2 separate regions of the Homo sapiens genome follow, and region 2 is linked to region 1. Evidence: promoter capture Hi-C in human tissues and cell types (Jung and others, 2019). All regions are on one chromosome and are shown on one strand. Each heading gives the region's core, a stretch centred on a gene start or on the middle of the fragment in contact. The rest is flanking DNA. Distances are from core to core; before and after follow the strand shown.

Region 1 (3,130 bases), core at 540-3,039:
GGCGCGGTGGCTCACGCCTGTGATCCTAGCACTTTGGGAGGCCGAGGTGGGTGCATCACGAGGTCAGGAGATCGAGACCATCTTGGCTAACACGGTGAAACCCCGTCTCTACTAAAAATACAAAAAATTAGCCGGGTGCAGTGGCAGGCACCTGTAATCCCAGCTACTCAGGAGGCTGAGGCAGGAGAATGGCGTGAACCTGGGAGGGGGAGCTTGCAGTGAGCCAAGATAGTGCCACTGCAGTCTGGCCTGGGCAAAAGAGCGCAAGACTCCTTCTCAAAAAAATAAAAAAAAAAATTTAAAAAATTATATTAAGGAATTATTGTAAATTTTTTTAGGTGTCATAACAGCACTTAGGTTATGCAGGAAAATGTCCTTATTTCTTGGAGATGCATAATGAAATATTTAGAAGAGAAATGTCATGATGTCTATCATTCATGTTTAAATACTAAAAAGAAGCAAATATTGTAAAACATCAATAACCATTAAGTATGGATGATGAGTATGTAAGTATTCATTATGCATTTCTGTCCTTTTTAAATTTTATTTTATTTTACTGGAAAGCAAGAGAGGAAGGAGATCAAATCTGAACTTAAGAAGCTCACTCCCCTACTTATTGGATGACTAGAGTGGAAGCAAAAGAGCAGTTACTAGCTGATTGCTGCAGTGGTCGTGGTGAAAGAGCACAGTGTTTCAGTTCAGGTAGTGAGGATGGACAGAAGTGGACTGATGGGAGATGTATTTTGCAGGGAGAAACCATAAAATGATTGATAGCCTCGAGGTGGCACAGACGGAGAGAAAGGAGAGTCAAAGCTAATGATGAGGCCAGGCCCGGTAGCTCACACCTGTAATCCCAGCATTTTGGGAGGCGAAGGCCGTTGGATCACCTGAGGTCAAGAGTTCAAGACCATCCTGGCCAACAAGGTGAAATCCCATCTCCAATAAAAATGCAAAAATTAGCCGGGCAAGGTGCTGTGCGCCTGTAATTCCAGCTACTAGGGAGGCTGAGGCAGGAGAATGGCTTGAACCCAGAAGGTGGACATTGCAGTGAGCCAAGATCACGCCAGTATCCAGCCTGGCCAACAGAGCAAGACTCCATCTCAATAAAAAATAAATAAAAGCTAATGATGACAGCTAATATGTATGGAGCATGTAGTATGCACCAGTCCAGTCATCCTTCTAAGTGATCCATATTAGTGTAACGAACAAAATCTTCACAATCACTGTGTGAGGCGGGTAGTAACTATTAACACCTCCACTTTGCAGATCAGGAAACTTGGACGCAGACAAGTTAAACAAGGTGCCCAAGGTCATACCCTTAGTAGATGCCCTGCTAGAACTGGAATCTAGGCATGCCTAACCATTTTTTCTTAAGGAAGAGAACAGTATCTTCAATGACAATGAGTAAGAGTACTTATTCTACCCACTTTTCTGCTTCTTGTCTTCGGGTTTATCGTTCTGGACCCACCTATCTTTCCTGGCCCCCCACTTAACTTAACCCTTTTCACCCACCCTGGGGCGGGGAGACAGAGGTGATCCTAGAAGAGGGCTACAGGGATGGGGCCAAGTGGGAATTCTAGCGAGGCGCCTACTATTTGATGGAGGAGGGATGGGCTAGGTAGGTCCCCCGCTCCGACAGGGCTCTTACGCCATATGTGACGCAAATTAGCTTACGAGCCGGGGGTGGAGGTGTCGTCAGCACCCGCCTGCGGTTGGCCGCGTTGCAGCGAGAGGGGCATGTAGACCCCGCCTCGTAGGGAGGTGGGGAGCGGCAAGCCCCGCCTCAGCCCCTCTGGCAGGCTCCCGCCAGCGTCGCTGCGGCTCCGGCCCGGGAGCGAGCGCCCGGAGCTCGGAAAGATGCGGCGCCCGCGGCGGCCTGGGGGTCTCGGGGGATCCGGGGGTCTCCGGCTGCTCCTCTGCCTCCTGCTGCTGAGCAGCCGCCCGGGGGGCTGCAGCGCCGTTAGTGCCCACGGTCAGGAGGAAACTTGGGCTGGCGGGTGGTGGGGGGCGGGGAGCAGCTTGGGGCCTGGAGCGAAACTCGGTGGGGGTGAGGGTGAAATGTCATGAAGCTCGGGGAGAATATGGGTTGGGGGAGGCATGCGAGATGAGGAAGGTGAGAGGGCGTCTCGGAGGAAAGGGGCGTAGGCCTGGAGGTGGGGCTGGGAATACGGGGGCGGGACCTAAGAGAATTGGGCTCTGGGGAAAATTGCAGGTTCGGGAGAAGGACACGGGGTGCATGTGGGCAGAGGGACTTAGAGACCGGCTGCGAGACCACAGGAGAAGCCACTTGCTCCGAGGCGCCTGGGAGGTGGTGACAGGCGCTGAGGAATGGGAAGGGGAGGTGGCGGGGAGAATGAGGGAACGGTGATCTCTGGGCAGTGGAAGCCTGGGCCGCAGACATAGAGTCCCAGCTGGGCAGAGAGAGAGGCCAGGGTTTCTCCGTAAGCCTAGAGAAGCTGATTGCAGCGATCTGATCTCCTGTAACGGGGGACAGCACGGGGAGGGGGCAGAAGAGGATGAAGAGGGGAGGGTCCTCTCTTGTCCCCCTCCCCACAGCCAGGCCTGGTGCTGACTCACATCTGTGCGGACAGAGACAGTCAGCGCTGACTCACGGACAGGGGGTGGGGGATGGGAGGGTGGCGCGTGGGGGAAGGGGCGCAGCCTCGCCGCCTGGCGCCCTCTTTCCCCACCCGGGCTTGGAGGCCCGAGAGGCAGAGTACTTCCTGTGACGCTGTGGGTTGGCAGAATACAACAGAGGGCTCAGGTCTAGTGGAGAGTCCTCGCTCTGTGACCCCTTCCTCTCTGGTAACCGCCTCCAAGGCCAGCCCTTGGCGGCGCCAGACTCAGAGCTTCAGCACCGCGGACAGCGCCAGCGGCTCGGGACAGCGCGAGGAGAGATGCCTAAGAGACACCCTCCCCAGCCCCACCCATGCCCTCTTTCCCCCGACCGGGGGAAGTGTGCTAGAACCTCTTCTGAGTTCCAGGCCATTATAGGATGCTTTTCCATATTTGGGAAGGAAATTCCTCTTTCAGAATTTGGCCAAAACCTCTCCTGCAGTAATTCTATGAATCTCTCTCCCTGCACCTGGAAGGTTTCTTCCCTATCACTCAGTTAAGCAAACAGAGGCTT
Region 2 (3,130 bases), core at 252-2,751, 46 kb after region 1:
GAACATCCCTGTGTGCAGCGTATCCACACTGTTGACACTACCTACCCATTAGCCACTGAGTAGCCGGATCCCTTATCAGATCGACTGTGGCGATGCTTCTGCTCATGTAACCCTTATTCTACCTCATAACAGCCCCACCGCTCAAGAGCAGTGATGCTGGCATATTACTATCATTGCTTTATTTCTCTATATCATTATTGTTCTTTTTTTTTTTTTTTTTGAGACAGGGCCTCACTCTGTCACCCAGGCTGGAGTGCAGTGGCATGATCTCAGCTCACTGCAACCTCTGCCTCTTGGGTTCAAGCAATTCTCCCACCTCAGCCTCCTGAGTAGCTTGGATTACAGGCACATGCCACCACGCCTGGCTAATTTTTGTATTTTTATTAGAGATGGTGTTTCACCATGTTGGCCAAGCTGGTCTCGAACTCCTGACCTCAAGTGATCTGCCTGCCTTGACTTCCCAAAGTTCTGGGATTACAGGCATGAGCCACTGCACCTGGCCTATTGTTGTTCTTAACCTCTTACTGTGCCTAATTTATGAATTAAACTTGGTCATATGTATGCATGTATAGGAAAAAACAGTACATAAGGTTCAGTACTATCCGCCATTTCAGGCATCCGCTGGGGGCCCTACAACATATCTTTGTAAGTAAGGGGGGACTGTTGTACAGTTCAGTCCCTCTTCCAGATAGCAGCCAAAACCAGGACTAGGTCTGCCAGATTTAGCAAATAAAAGTATTTTATTTAGCAACCCTATCCAGGAAGTAGTTGCTAATGTGAAATTTCAGCCACTGTGTTACATAGTGCAGTTGAAACAGGGGACTTTTTCAGAGACCCTGTCAACCCAGTAAGCTAGGGAATGATCTCAAGTTGGTTAACTCTGGCTTTGGCTACAGACTGAAGGTTAGAACTCTTCTGTCTCCCACCTGGAACAAAGAGGCCCAAAGAAGAGACCCAGCCACTTAACATATCAAAGATAAGAAAGCTCAGCCTTCTACTGGGTTGGCCCATGAAACCATGGACCTCAGGAATTATTGTCCAGATGGAGTGATATGGGGCCCAGAGGGCCCACTGGGCTCAAAACTCTCTTGTGTAGCACTGAAACTTCTCCCAACTGGCCTTGGGAGTTGGACTCTCAGAGTCAACCTAGGTATCACCAACTCCAAAAAGAAAACTATCCTAATGGCAGTCAGCTGTCTTATGTAAAGCAGAATGAAAAGACTGAGTTTTGTGATCTTGGCTCACTGTAACCTCCTCCTCCTGGGTTCAGGCAATTCTCCTGCCTCAGCCTCCCGAGTACCTAGGACTACAGGCATGCACCAACACACCCCGCTAATTTTTGTGTTTTTAGTAGAGACAGTGTTTCACCATGTTCGCCAGGCTGGTTTCAAACTCCTGACCTCAGATGATCCATCTGCCTTGGCCTCCCAAAGTGTTGGGATTATAGGTGTGAGGCACTGTGCCCGGCCAAGACTGAGATTTTTAAAGCATTTTAATGCATCTAGATTAAAACATAAGAGGCCATGAATACTCTTAATTTCTTCAACAAATATTGAGTGCTTGCTGTATGCCAAGCACCATTTCAGGTGCCAGGGATACAGTGATAAACACAAAAGTTTATGCTTTTTTGGGGGGTGGGGAATGGAGTTTTGCTCTTGTTGCCCAGGCTGGGGTGCAGTGGTGCTATCTCGGCTCACTGCGACCTCCGCCTCCCGGGTTCAAGCAATTCTCCTGTCTCAGCCTCCCAGGTAGCTGGGATTACAGGCGCATGCCACCATGCCTGGCTAATTTTTGTATTTTTAGTAGAGACGGGGTTTCATCATGTTGGTCAGGCTGGTCTCGAACTCCTGACCTCAGGTGATCTGCCCACCTTGGCCTCCCAAAGTTCTGGGATTACATGTGTGAGCCACTGTGCCTGGCAAGTTTATGCTCTTAAGAAGCTTACATTCTAGCCTGGGCAACATAATGCGACTCTGCCTCCACAAAAAAAAAAATTTTTTTTTAATTAGCTGGGTGTGGTGGCACATGCCTGTGGCCCCAGCTACTTGGGAGGCTGAGGAGGGAGGCTCACTTGAGCGCAGGAGGTCAAGGTTGCAGTGAGCCGTGATCATGCCACTTGCACTCCAGCCTGGGTGACACAGTAAGACCCTGTCTCAAAAAGAAATAAAATGGAGCTTTCATTTTCATGGGGAAGACAGACAATAAACAAACAAGAACATTCCAGATAGCAATAAGCATGTGAAGAAAACAAGGCTGGATAATGGAACAGAAAGATATGCAGGGGCTGCTATTTTAGACTGAACAGAAGCCACTCTATAAGAAGGTGATATTTGTTTTGTTTTGTTTTGTTTTGTTTTTGAGACAGAGTCTCGAGTCTCGCTCTGTCGCCCAGGCTGGATGGAGTGCAGTGGCACGATCTCAGCTCACTGCAAGCTCTGCCTCCTGGGTTCACGCCATTCTCCTGCTTCAGCCTCCCGAGTTGCTGGGACTACAGGCGCCCACCACCACGCCAGGCTAATTTTTTGTATTTTTAGTAGAGATGGGGTTTCACCATGTTAACCAGGATGGTCTCGATCTCCTGACCTCATGATCCGCCCGCCTCGGCCTCACAAAGTGCTGGGATTACAGGCGTGAGCCACTACACCCGGCCAGAAGGTGACACTTGAACTGAGGGCTGAATGGTGAGGAGTCAGCGAGGCAAGATCTGGAAACCAGTTCTCCAGACAGACAGAATAATAAGTGCAAACAATCATAGGTAGGAACTAGCCCAGTGTGTCCAAAAACCCAGAGTGAGGAAAGGAGAGAGCTCTACAAGATGAGATCATAGAGGTGGAGGGGCCTTGGAAGGAGAATGGCTTTTATATAAGTGTAACAGGAGGGTTTGAAACAAGCGTCATTGCCTAGCTTGTGTTTCAGAGAGATGACTGCAGCTGCTGTGTGGAGACTGCATTAGGGTTTCAAGCCTAGAGGCAGGAAGCTGGTTCAGAGGCTGCTGAAGGCATCTAGGAATAACGGGATGGTAGTAGGGGGTGGTGAGAAGTAGCTGGGTTGGCAGTAAAGTGAAGGACATACTAGTGTAGGTGGTGGCAGAGCTTCTCAACAGCCTTGCCTGCCCCTGCCCAATTCTTCA

Evidence for each region. Contacts are between HindIII fragments. The study calls those that stand out against the background at their distance.
Region 2: a contact is called between a fragment that was not itself captured here and the fragment with the promoter of PTPRN in region 1, in 2 of the 25 tissues and cell types used here (liver and mesenchymal stem cells).

The regions. Positions count from the first base shown.
Region 1 is chr2:219,308,060-219,311,189 of GRCh38, reverse strand. PTPRN (protein tyrosine phosphatase receptor type N) reads left to right here and starts at 1,789. Exons shown (of 23, transcript NM_002846.4): 1 at 1,789-1,972. The coding sequence starts at 1,858. The HindIII fragment of the contact is 13,898 bases long and covers 1-3,130 here.
Region 2 is chr2:219,261,550-219,264,679 of GRCh38, reverse strand. All of the region lies in intron 1 of TUBA4B (tubulin alpha 4b), which reads right to left. Among named protein-coding and RNA genes, the nearest start is that of TUBA4A, 9.2 kb to the right of the region's middle. The HindIII fragment of the contact is 3,379 bases long and covers 1-3,130 here.